Regions from separate parts of the Homo sapiens genome. Here regions 1, 2 and 4 are each linked to region 3. Evidence: promoter capture Hi-C in 16 types of primary human blood cells and fetal thymus (Javierre and others, 2016). All regions are on one chromosome and are shown on one strand. Each heading gives the region's core, a stretch centred on a gene start or on the middle of the fragment in contact. The rest is flanking DNA. Distances are from core to core; before and after follow the strand shown. Region 1 overlaps NKD1 (NKD inhibitor of Wnt signaling pathway 1). Region 2 has its middle 6.5 kb from the start of NKD1. Region 3 holds the start of CNEP1R1 (CTD nuclear envelope phosphatase 1 regulatory subunit 1). Region 4 overlaps LOC105371244 (a long non-coding RNA gene).

Region 1 (3,208 bases), core at 551-3,050, 530 kb after region 3:
TTTGGCCTGTTAGTACACTGGCTTGTGTTTGCTGATTTAGACCTTTAAGATTCTGATGGTGGTGGTGGTAGAGAAGCAGTATGTTAGTGATAAAAGGACACACGAGTGAGTATCATATGGACTCAACATTGTGCCTAATACTTTCCATGCATTCTCTTGTAGAATCCTCACAACTGCCTTAGGTATTATTCCGCTATCGCATAGATGAGGAGGCAGGCCCAGCAAATTAGAGTCACTAGCCCAGCCAGGGAGAGCTGGATGCAGGCTGCATCCAAGGCAGAGAGTGCAGGCCAAGCAAAGGCTCATTGCCAGGAAGCTGTGCACAGTGTATTTCAGTCTGGTGGGAGAGCAATGTGGGAGGCACAGGAAGGGTAAGTAAAGATGTGGGCTGGGATGGGAGGCCGAGGTTGGTGGAGGCCGAGGTTGGTGGATCACCTGAGGTCAGGAGTTTGAGACCAGCCTGGCCAACATGACGAAACCCCGTCTCTGCTAAAAATACAAAAAAAAAAAAAAAAAGAAAGAAAAGAAAGAAAAAAAAAATAGCCGGGCATGGTGGCAGGCACCTGTAATCCCAGCTACTTGGGAGGCTGAAGCAGGAGAATTCCTTGAACCCGGGAGATGGAGGTTGCAGTGAGCCAAGATCGTGCCATTGCACTCCAGCCTGGGTGACAAGAGTGAAACTCTGTCTCAAACAAACAAACAAACAAACAAACAACAAAACAAAGATGTGGGCTGGGAGACTTTATGCTGAAGACCAGCATGTGCCCATAGAAGGTGCCAGAGGTGTGCTTAGAACTTGCAGAATCAGACTTCCTGGGTCTGAGTCCCAGCTGCACTTCTCCCCAGCTCGGTGGCCTTGGGCCAAGTGATGGCTCATCTCTGATTCTCAGTTTTCACATCTGTGGAATGGGTAGAGTAATGGTTCCTACCTCATTGGGTTGTTTTAAGGGTAGAAATGGGTTCATTTCAGCAAGTTAAAGAATAAAGGAGATGTCACCCCTTCTTTTGCAGCTTGCCAGTGTTGTTTGCTAGTGATCACCTGGATGTGTGCTCAGTGTGGTACCAGTGTGCTAAGTGCAGTGAAGGAAAAGGATGGGGAAGGAGAATAACGGAGGATTCTACTTCAGATTAGGGAGTGATGCGTAAGTCGTTAAGACCCAAAGAATAAATAGGAAATAGCTAGGTGGGGAAAGGTTTATTAAAAATATTCCAGGCAGAAGGCACGGGATGTGCAAAGGGCAAGAGGCATGCAGGGTTGGTGCACAGAGAAAGTGTTCAGCCTCCTTCTCGGTGTCTGACTTGGAACCACATTCCAGTCTCTGAGGTGTTAGAGCAGAACTATGTGGTGCAGCAGCAGGGAGTGGGCAGTGCCTGCTGGGCTGGGTGGTACCACTGTATGTTGCATCCCGTCATGAGGCCTTGTCTCCTTGCCGCAAGTCTTCCATGAAGTGTTACTGGTGTCTGTGGACTCCAGCTTTCTGGTCAGGTTGGAAGAGGTAGGGAGGAGAACCTCTCAGTCACAAGAAATAGTGTCACCCTGGAGCGGATTGGCTGGCCTGCTGGGCTGCCCAAGCCTTCTGGCCTTGAGCATAGAGCTGGGGTCCTGAGGAGGGGAGAGGCAGAGCATAAAAGGACCCTGTTAGCAGGATGGGGCTGTCTTCCCTCAGGCCACAGCCTCCCTAATGGGCTCAGGCCGGAGGATGTTTTTCTAACTTCAGAAGGCTGCGTGGGCTGGTGGGCCCCTCACTCAGAGGCCTCGGCTTGCGGTGGCTCCAGTGAGTGGGTTTGGGGGTGCTGGTGTGTGGTGCCATGCCCATTCCATGCCTGGTTTCCAGAGGGAGCCTTGTTCCAGGACAGTTTTTGACCCTGACTTTGTTGTTTTACCCTTCTTTCCCCCTTCAAAGGCAAAAAGATGATTGAAGAGAACTACTATAATCCAGGAACAAAGTTGCCTTTTCAGCGGGCACTGGGGACTTTCTCTGCTTCCTCCCTGCCCTGGAAAGTCCAAAGGCACCCACTGCCTCAGCTGGTCCTGGGCACGTGCCTGCTTTCTCAGTGGCTGCAGGCTCAGTGTGCCCGCGAGCTGCCCACTGTGTGCATAGCCCCGTGCTGAGTCTGGGAGCTGCAGCCCGAGGAGGAGGTGGTAACAGCGTAGCTGCTGCTTGCTGCGTGTCTGCTGTGTGCCAGGCTCTGGGCCAAGCACTGTTCATAGTGCTGGATTCTCAGAGCACTGTTATGAGGCCGCTGTTATTATTATGCCCATCTTACCCATAGGGAAACTGAGGCTTTAAAGAAGTCAACCATATTGCCCAAGGTCACTTAACTTGGAAGTGGAATCTTGCTTCAGCAAGATTCAAATTCAGATCACTCAGTGTGATTTTAGAGCCATCTTAAATCAGTTTAGGCGAGTTTTTTTTTTTTTTTCAACTGTATGTCTCAGCCCCATTCATGGTTCATGACATCAATTTAGTGACCAAAATGAAATAGAGTAAAAATATGAGAAAACATTATATATAGTAAGAGTAAATATTGTTTTGTGTAATTTTTTGTTCTAGTTAAAAAAAATGTATACACACACTTTACACACACCTATACCCAAACCCATCTATCTATCTATCTATCTATCTATCTATCTATCTATCTACAGCAGAGGCATATTGTAAAATATAATTCTTACTATAGGTCATAATCAGAGTATTAGAAAAACGCTGGTGTGGGTCACTGGTGCAGGCCCTGAGCCTGAATGCCTGGTTTTGAGCCCTGGCTCTACTTCTCACTAGCAGTGTGACCTAGGGCAACTTTCCTGACCTCTCTGTGCTTTCTGAGCTGTTTGGTTTGTTGACTTTTGGGCCTGGGTCAGTGCTCCCAGGGATGCTGTGGGTGCTTGCTGCTGGCTCACTCCCTTTGCTTAGGGAATGAAGAGGATGAGCAGTCCCATGGAGGGGGGGCCCATGGCTTCTCCCCTGAGAAGCCAACAGCAGCAGCTTCATCCCAGGAGAAACACAGACATGGCTCAGTCATCAGGGGTTGGACACAATGCTGCGCTGGGAACCCTGAGCCTGGGGGTGCCTCCAGCTTAGCTATGAGGTATCTATTATGACCTCTCCTGCCTTCTGCTTCCTCCTCTCAAAAATGCATTAAAGGAAAGGAGAAGGCTTTGTTTCTACTGCTGTAAAAAAAAAAAAAAAGTCCAAAGATTAGTGACTTG
Region 2 (3,073 bases), core at 509-3,008, 520 kb after region 3:
CATCCAGTGTTGGGCTTTCAATTCCATCTGCCTGCTTATGATGCCTGGGCACATATCTGCAGCCTGCAGCTTGCTTCTGTACTCTGGGCTCATAGATCCAACTGGCCACTCAATCTCACTGCCAGGACACTCAACGGTCGTCTCAAAACAACGTGCCAAATGGAGCTCCTCTTCTTCCTTGCCTGGCAGACCAGCTCCACCCGCAGGCTTCCTCATTGCAGTTCATGGCAGCTCCATCCTTGGAGTTGCTTAGGCCCCGCATCTTGGCGGCTTCCTTAGTTTCTCTGTTTCTCTCCCACTCCACGTCCAATACATTTGCTAATGCTGTTGCCTCTAATTTCAAAATACATTCAGCGTCCAACTTCTTTTACCTCCTCCACTGCCATCACCTGGTCTAAGTCGCCATCATCTCAGGCCTGGCGCCCCACCATAGCCCTGTGACCCACACTTATTCTCAACACAGCAGCCCAGTTGCTCTGGTTACTACTCTCTCTTTTTTTGAGACAGGGTCTCACTCTGTTGCCCAGGCTTGAGTGCAGTGGTGCAGTCTCAGCTCACTGCAACCTCTGCCTCCTGGGCTCCAGCAATCCTCCCACCTCAGCCTCCCTAGTAGCTTGGAATACAGACATGCATCACCATACCTGGCTACTTTTTAAAATTATTTTTTGTGGAGACAGGATTTTGTCATGTTACCCAGGCTGGCCTCAATCTTCTGGTTGCAAGGGATCAACCCACCTCAGCTTCCCAAAGTGCTGGGATTACAGGCATGAGCCACCATGCCCAGCCACAACTCTCTTCTAGTAACTCCTGTCTTTCTCCAGGAAAGCTGAAGTTTTTGATGAGACCTATAAGGGTCTCATGATCTGTCCCCGTCACCTCCAACCTCATCTTCTCCCCAATACTCCCAAACTGTGGTCTCTCTGCTCCAGAGCCGGGGGCCTCTTTGCTGTTTCCAAAACATTCCTGGCATATCCTTACCTCAGGCCCTTTGCACATGCTGTTCCCTCTGTTTCTTCCTCATTTTCAAGTCTTTGCACAAAGCTTATCCTCTCTGACCTGTCTATCTAAAATCATTAGCTCCTGCCCTGGTATTTTTTCTTTCTCTTTATCACTTGAATTTTTTCTCCCATAGACACACCACATATTTCACTGACTTATGTATTTATTGTCTGTCTTCCTCTATGAGAATATAAACTTCATGAGGATGGCATTTTTGTCTGTTTTGTGGACACAAGAGCCTGATGTAAATTAGGCGCCCAACAAATCTTCACTGAATGACATGATAAATAAAAGAGAAGCACCCACCTTTATTTCTTGGTTGCCTCCTCCCTGACTTTGGCCTCTCCATCTCCTCCCCAGCATGGCTGCTTATGCGAGGCAAGGGCAAGCTATGTAACCTTGGTTGCTTCTGAGAAGGCTTAACTTTCTAGAGCCTCCAACTGTGTGTGGTCTATACACCAGCACCATCAGCCTCACCTGGGAGCTGGTGAGAAATGACTCTCAGGCTCCACTCACACTGCATCTCAACAAGATCCCGGTGAATTCATATGCACATTAAATTCCAGGGAGCCCTCCTCTAGGCTATTTGACCCTAGCTCAAGAAAGGGGGATTAAGAGTCTTACAGGGAGGGATCCAAGGTCAGCATATACAGTTAGTCAGGGACCAGTCTGTCTGTGTCTCTCTCTCCATGGGGTTTACTATCATTGCTTTCCCCTAATGGTTCTTACTCCTGCTTCTTCCTGCTTATTTTTCAGCCCACAGCGACCCCAAGAAGCTGCTCCAACCCCTGGGACTATGGAGCTCTACAGCTGTAGAGACCACCAGGAAGTGGACTGCAGGCCCCTGGCCTCTCCATTCAGATTCTGCAAAGAGATCCTGATGGGTTGGGCCAATGGGTCAGGCATCCAGTCAGCTCTGGCTAAGGGGTGAAGGAGTCAGGTGTTACCAACGTGGTGGCAGGGGCCACCTTGAAGCTGTGTTCTGTGCCATGGAAGAAGGAAGAGGAGGAGGAAGCTAAGCTGGAAGGGAAGGCAGGTGATACAGGAAAATTAACTATGAGCTTTGCTATAGTGACCACTTTTCCTTCACTCCTTGAGCTGTGGCCTTAAGAACTGTGTACCAATGGGAGGCACTTGCATAGTAAGTGTTCATTTGCTGAATACTTACAGAGGGCTATAAGTGGACAAATATGTCCAAAAACACATGAAACACACACCATCAACACTTGCAGATGGTCTCCTTCAGGGAACCTTTCCACACTGGCTCTCCCCTCACTGAGCTTTCCTTCCTATCACCCTCCCAGTCTAGGCTCCTGGAGTCAGTAGTTGGAATCTCAGATGGGAAGAAACCTTAAAAGTCATCTGGTCCAGTATTTTCCAAAGCATGTTCCATGAACTTGTTTTCCAGAAATGGTTTCCTGGTCTGGTGAGTTTAAGAAACCCTGCTTATGACGATGCTCTCCATTTAGAGAATCACAAAGCTTGGCTACTCAATGAAAGCTCTGACAAGTCCTGCAGGAAAAAACTTGTCTTCTTTTGGCTAAGCTAGGGCTGCCCAAAGTTTCTCATGGAGTCCTTTCTTGCACATAATAATAGCATCTCACAAACCAGTGGTCGGGGGAACCCATTACGGGAAATGCTAATCTTCTGGACCCTTCCTTCTATTTTATAGGTGGAGAGGCTGTGTGGTGGTCTGGTTGGCTGCATGTAACTGAAAAACAAAGGCTTAAAAAGATAGGGGCTTCTTTTGCTCTTTTGTTAACAAAGTCTGGGAATAGTCAAAGACTGGTACTGTGACTAGAAAGGCTTCTGATATGGTTTGGCTCTGTGTTCCCACCCAAATCTCACCTTGAGTTGTAATGATCCCCATATGTCAAGGGCAGGATCAGGTGGAGGTAATTGAATCATGAGGGCAGTTAATCCCATGCTGTTCTTGTGATAGTGAGTTCTCACAGGATCTGATGGTTTTATAAGGGGCTTTTCCCCTTTGCTCGGCACCTCTCTCTCCTGCTGCTATGTGAAGAGGGACGTGTTTGCTTCTCCTTCTGTCATGATTGTAAGTTTCCTGAGGCCT
Region 3 (2,998 bases), core at 281-2,780:
GGGGTAGAGACTTAACATTTAAATGCATTACAGTTAGACCCTTTACGTCAAAAGGCGAAGCAGAGAACATAAAGGCACTCATTGTGCAGCCTCTGTAGACTGGCTAGGGCCAATCTATGGTGGGTGGTCTCTTATCAGGAGAAAGTTACTGAAATCAGTCTCTTGTCTAATGAAAGCAGGAGTTATGGCTTGTGGAACAAAGGGATCAGTTAGTCAGTGACTGGTACTTGGTAAGCTGCAATTGTTTTAATATTGCTTGTTTAGCTGCTAGAGGAAAAAAACGAACATTGTGGCAGTTAGAACATCGTTTATTCTTTAAGTGTCTGGGTCTTGAGTGATTTAACCCTTGCCTGGCAGGGCCTTAGGTCTTGTTTATAAGTTGGTATGTTACTGCCACAAAAAAATCTAGCCCATCAGTCTTAGATTCTTTTTTTTTTCTTTTTCTTTTTTGACAGTCTCACGCTGTCACCCAGGCTGGAGTGCAGTGGCTCACTGCAACCTCCGTCTCCTGGGTTCAAGTGACTCTCGTGCCTCAGCCTCCCAAAGAGCTGGGATTACAGGCATGCACCACCACGTCTGGATAATTTTTTTGTATTTTCAGTAGAAACAGGGTTTTGTCATGTTGCCCAGGCTGGTCTCAACTCCTGACCTCAAGTGATCCACGCGCCTCAGCCTCCCAGAGTGTTGGGATTAACAGGCGTGAGCCACCGCGCCCGGCCAGGATCTCTATTTTAACACAACTATTCTTATTTGAAATCAATTACTTATTTGCATGTTTGTTGCCTGCTGTAGCCCTTCCTCTTTGCGGGCAGGAATCCTGTCTACCTGGCTCACACGCGTATCAATACAGTGTCTAGCATGTTAGGCAATAAAATGATTTTGAATGAAAGAATGCCACCAATAAATGAACAAGAAGGCCTTGTGATCAAATACAAATGTAGTCAATCCCTTACAGATCTCTTCTTAAGTTATAGGTATTTGGGCTTACACTTTGCCTCATTTAGGAATTATGAAAGCTGGGTGATGTGAGAGGAAAGTAACCAAGAGAGAAGTGTTTACTTAAGGGGTTGGTTATCTAGGATACCATAATTAAGGAAACTGGTTATTTAGGGTTCTAGTTAGTTCTGTACAGATTTCATTACTCCTTGAGATCCTTGAGGACAGAACCAGCTCTTTGATTTCTGTATCCCTCGCTAGCGACCAGAATAATGCCTGGAAGGTAGTGGGCGCTCAATCAACATTTGACGAATGAAAGAACCAAGCGGGGAACGGGGGATAAATGAATGAACGAACTGGCTCCGGAGGGCTGCAGTTCCTCCCCGGGGCAGCAGGCGACGCCAGCGTTACGCCCGCCTGGCCGCCGGCAGTTCTTGGTCCCTCCGGCTGACCGTCCAACGCTAGGCGCCGAGGCCGGTGCAAGAGACAGCCAATAGAAAGCTGTCTTAGTTGGAGGTCTAGTAGAGGAATCCAATGAGCGTAGCGGGTCTAGGCAAGGGGCGGTGCGACGGGGAGGGGCAGCGGGGAGCGGTTAGAGGTGGGAGTTGGCGCTGCGGGCCGGGCGGGGGCCGCGGAAGCTGCGATGCGGACAGGGCAGCGGCGGTGACCCGAGCTGCCGCCCGACATGAACTCGCTGGAGCAGGCGGAAGGTAGGGTGGGCCGCCCGGGCCCGTCCCCCGTCTCCCCTCGGAAGCTGGCGGTGCTCCGGAGGAGCCGGCGTCGTGAAGACCCCCGCCCCGGGAGGAGGCCGCAGAGGATGGAGCTAGGGGCCCGGAGCTTGGGGGCGCGTAGGCGGCCGTACCTGGCCAGACGCGGGGGGCGGTGCCTCAGCTCCCTGAGTCCCCACAAACCTAGAGGGTCGACCTCCTCGCCAGCTTCTATTTTTATTTTCTTTTCACTGGCAGACACTTGCACTTCGTGCATTGCAGCCTGCTAATTCATTTCATTTCATTCTCACAGCCCCGCGAGTTGTATCCCTGATTCCTGCGGTGGTTTCCGGTAACTGCCAAGGTTAGGAAGTGCTGCTCGGTGTTTTAAAGTTTAAAGCACACCACTGCGGAAAGGATACCCCACCACTCACTCGGAGCAGCTTAGACGCCCCTGTCTTCTAGAACTAGGCGCTGCCTGGGTGCCACGAAGATCACCTGTACCCCTTCGGAGGGGGCAAGGGGAATGTCTTTCCACACCCACTCGCTATCAGTGTCAAGAAGTCTAGTAAGGCCAGACGGCGTAGCCATTAATTAAATATAAGAGCTGGAAACCGGAGGCGGGTAATTGCAGTCAGGTAGACCTCGAAGACTTTGATGTTAGGCACTACGTGGTTCTAATAGGAAGTTCTTGGTTCCCAGAGAGCTAAAACTCGACCTGATTTTAATTTTATTTGCAACCCTGAAAATGTTCGCTTTTGGCGCTGGCCGAGGCTGCTGCTTATTTCTCCCAATACCATTTATGAAGCTTCTAAAAGTAAATCAGCAAGTTTTCTTATATGAGAAATTGGAATTAAAGAGCCCTAATTTTTTGTCAAGTGCTTAAAAAGCTGTCATAGTAAATGAAATAAACAGTGCAGTGATACATGGAAGTTAGTGTGTAAGACCTGAAGCAGTTAAGAGTATCTCACATGTCGTCTTAATGTTAGGTAAATACTCTGACATTTCGTCAGACGAGTAAGAGTGGCTAATTAGAAAATTGACATCTTTATACCTAGATCTCAAGGCTTTTGAGAGGAGACTTACTGAATATATTCATTGTTTGCAACCTGCTACTGGACGCTGGAGAAGTAAGTTCCTGAATGTTATTTTAAGGGAAAACTAACAATTGATACTTTTATCCTAATATAGGAATGATTTGCTTTTATGTAAAATGTTTGTTTAAATTTATTTAACATTGTAGACAATGCCTTATGAAGAAATTTTTAAGAAAAGGAAATTATAACTGGCCTTCTCAAAAGAACAGTCTATTTCGTGTGGTTGTTTTTGTTTTTCCATTAAAAAACATATTTTTT
Region 4 (3,031 bases), core at 506-3,005, 590 kb before region 3:
CACTATAATATCGACTGCTTAGGAGCATGGGCCTTAGAATCAGAGCAAGGTAACACTGGGCCAGCGCCTCTACCCTTCTGAAACTCCATTTCTGCAACTATAAAGTGGAGATGGTAAGAGTGCCCACTTCATGGAGCTTTGGTGAAGATTACATAAAAGGGTGCATGTGATGTATCTAGGACACTAAGGCCTCATTGATACCGGCAATTGGTATTATGATCCAGGTTCCCCCAGATCTGACATTTCTAAAGCTGGCAGAGCCATCAGTCCAGAACTACCACAGTGCTCCTTGTCCCCTGCCCCTCAGTGTCACAGTCAACATCAGGAGTCAGGACAGAGGTGGGCGAGGGTCAGAGGGGTGCCTGGGAAACCGTATTTCAAGAAAGCTGAAGAAAGGGGATGATTTCAAGTTTTCAGCTTCTAGAGAACCTGGCCTGCTCCCCATCTGGCCTAGCCTTACTCTGGTACCCCAGGTTCTGGGCTTCCCATGGAACCAGCCTCAGGCTAAATCTACTGCAAAAATTCCAGAAGCCAGAAACAGAGAAGTGTTGGTGGTGGCAGGTGAGCCCACCAGCAACAGGGGACACCTACTGAAGAGGACAGTCCCAGCCACTAGGTACAAAACCGGACTGAAAGGGGTCCCAAAGCAAATGGAAAGAATCCAGGACCCACGTGCTTATTGTTTGTTAAAATCAAAGATAACATTCCAAGCCTTGTTAAGGTGAGGGCACACACTCTCTAGACTCGAGCAAAAGAGTTTCAAATACAGATGGGACAGAAAAGAGCATGAAACCCAGGGGAATCAATGATCCTGGGTTTTGGGGGAGCAGACATGTGCCTTGGGACATGGTGAGTGTGTGCACCTGTTCGTGCACACGTAGGTACCCGTGCATGCCCGGGGGAAGGAGGGGTTGCTGGAGAGTGTGTGCTGGAAGTGGCTGCAAAAGAAATAACTTTTTCCCAACACAACCTTGGAAGACAGTGCGAGCTTTATTTCAGGCAAATGGCTGTAGTCAAAGGGGTCCAGTTGAGACTTTTCACCCTTGGCCTTCTCCCTTGCTCTGTCTCTGTGTCTAGTTTTCTTCGCTCCTGTCTCTCTTTCTGTGCCCCAAGGTCTTTTATTCTCAGTTTCTTTCTGCTTGTCTCTGCCTGTCTCAATGTCTCCATCTTTCTCTGTCTCTGCTTCTCACTGTCTGTCCATCTGTGTGTGTCCCTGCCTCCTGTTTCTTTCTCTCTCTCCACACACACACTCCTTTGGGATTCCATTCCTCCGTTTCTCGGTCTCTCTCTCCCTCCACGTGTCTCCTCTCATCTCTCCCCCTAACAATCTTATATCTTCCTTCATCCCAGGAACTCCTTTTCTTTCAGCTCCATCAGCTGCTTCCTCTCCCTTTGTGCTAGGAGAGGTGCTGTCTTCCAAAGGAGCAGAATCCTGGGAGAAACAGGATTTCCAGGTCTGAATGCTTAATTTCATATTCCCGTCCAACAAGGGCAAAGATTCAAGCCACATTGTATCCTGGCTTATCACACATTCCCCACCAGCCCTGGTGAAATCACCCTCTTCTCCTCCCCAAACGGGTGCCTGGCTGTTCCTCCTGAGAAGGGGGTACATTGCAGGGCTCTTTTCAATGGTTTTGGTCCCCAGAAATTCCAGGCAGGATCCTCTGCCACTCTCCAGAGAGTGGGCCTGGGACTCGGGCAAGGTTCAGCTGGCTCGGATTTCCCGAGGTTCACATCTAGGCTCTTTATTTTGTTCTATTCCATCCCAAGAACAAGTGCTTGCTGGCTTCCAATTGTAACCAGTGATCACTGGTTACAACTTGTAAAAATGAAGACCTAAATAAAATGTGTACAAGTTCCTGGACAATTTAGTGAATGAATACACACACATAATTCTAAACAATGTGCAATATGAACTCATGTACTCTTTATAATGTATCCCCATTTTTCAGATGAGGAAATTGAGGCACAGAGAAGTTAGAAAACTTGCCAAGGTCACACAGCCGCACAGTGTATTTGAGCCCAGCCATCCACCCTGGGGCTCCGGCTCGGAAGTGCCGCCCTCTGCTGCCTTCCCGTGGCCTGCAATGCAGTCCTTCTGGTGAGCACAGTGCCCTCCTCACCTTGGTTCCTAGAACAACAAAGCCCTTCCCTCCCCAGAGCTTTGGGGCTGAGCTTCCTTCCCCCCACTTTTCTGCAGGTCTTGTTGCCTCTCATCCTTCAGGTCTCAGCCCAAATATCATGCTCAGGGACCCTCCCTGAGACCCCCCCAGGAAAAGAGCCCCTACCCCAAGTTCCCCAAGACATCACACTACTTATTTCCTTCAAAGTTTATCACCTTGGGATGTCCCCGCTAGTTTTTATCTGTTTTCTTGGTTACTGTCTTTTTCCTTTCCTGGAATGGAAGCTCACTATGGATAGAGACCGGATCTGTCTTGTTCCTAGCAATAACCACAACAGAACAGAATCCAAGCTGCAGAAAGGTCTAGTAAACTAGTAAATGCAAGTAAATGGAGCTGGCACAGCTCAGAGGAGTGAGGTGGCCAGGGATGTTTCAGGAGGAAAGGATGGTGAGCAGAGGCATAGAGGTACAAAAACATGATGTGGGACAGGCACAGTGGCTCACACCTATAATCCCAGCACTCTGGGAGGCCGAGGCTGGTGGATCACTTCAGGTCAGGAGTTTGAAACCAGCCTGGCCCACATGGTGAAACCCCGTCTCTACTAAAAATACAAAAATTAGCCAGGTGTGGTGACAGTTGCCTTTAACCCCAGCTACTGGGGGGCTGAGGCAGGAGAATCACTTGAGTCCAGGAGGGGAGGTTGCAATGAGCCGAGATCGCACCACTGCACTCCAGCCTGGGTGACAGAGAGAGACTCTGTCTCAAAAACAAACAAAAAAATGTCATATGTACCAAGGCGTGCAGTCCGTCTGTGCCACACACTTTCAGGGGTTGTGTTGGCAGGAAAGATCCATCAGCTCCGATCCTGTATTTGAGGATGCAGATGAGCTTGAATTGTGGGCCTTGAA

Evidence for each region. Contacts are between HindIII fragments. The CHiCAGO score rates a contact against its expected background, and 5 or more counts as called.
Region 1: a fragment that was not itself captured here is called in contact with the fragment with the promoter of CNEP1R1 in region 3 in 4 of 17 cell types (total CD8 T cells, naive CD8 T cells, monocytes and 1 more); the score reaches 8.2 in total CD8 T cells.
Region 2: a fragment that was not itself captured here is called in contact with the fragment with the promoter of CNEP1R1 in region 3 in 2 of 17 cell types (total CD8 T cells and activated CD4 T cells); the score reaches 6.2 in total CD8 T cells.
Region 4: a fragment that was not itself captured here is called in contact with the fragment with the promoter of CNEP1R1 in region 3 in 1 of 17 cell types (fetal thymus); the score reaches 5.1 in fetal thymus.

What each region holds. Positions count from the first base shown.
Region 1 is chr16:50,558,221-50,561,428 of GRCh38, forward strand. All of the region lies in intron 3 of NKD1 (NKD inhibitor of Wnt signaling pathway 1), which reads left to right. Among named protein-coding and RNA genes, the nearest start is that of NKD1, 11 kb to the left of the region's middle. The HindIII fragment of the contact is 5,014 bases long and covers 1-3,208 here.
Region 2 is chr16:50,540,403-50,543,475 of GRCh38, forward strand. No RefSeq gene overlaps it. Among named protein-coding and RNA genes, the nearest start is that of NKD1, 6.5 kb to the right of the region's middle. The HindIII fragment of the contact is 1,439 bases long and covers 1,040-2,478 here.
Region 3 is chr16:50,023,695-50,026,692 of GRCh38, forward strand. CNEP1R1 (CTD nuclear envelope phosphatase 1 regulatory subunit 1) reads left to right here and starts at 1,531. Exons shown (of 6, transcript NM_001281789.2): 1 at 1,531-1,646; 2 at 2,702-2,773. The coding sequence starts at 1,622. RefSeq lists an enhancer at 1,220-1,721 and a silencer at 1,535-1,844. The HindIII fragment of the contact is 11,127 bases long and covers 1-2,449 here.
Region 4 is chr16:49,435,486-49,438,516 of GRCh38, forward strand. All of the region lies in intron 2 of LOC105371244 (a long non-coding RNA gene), which reads right to left. Among named protein-coding and RNA genes, the nearest start is that of LINC02179, 29 kb to the right of the region's middle. The HindIII fragment of the contact is 4,036 bases long and covers 1-3,031 here.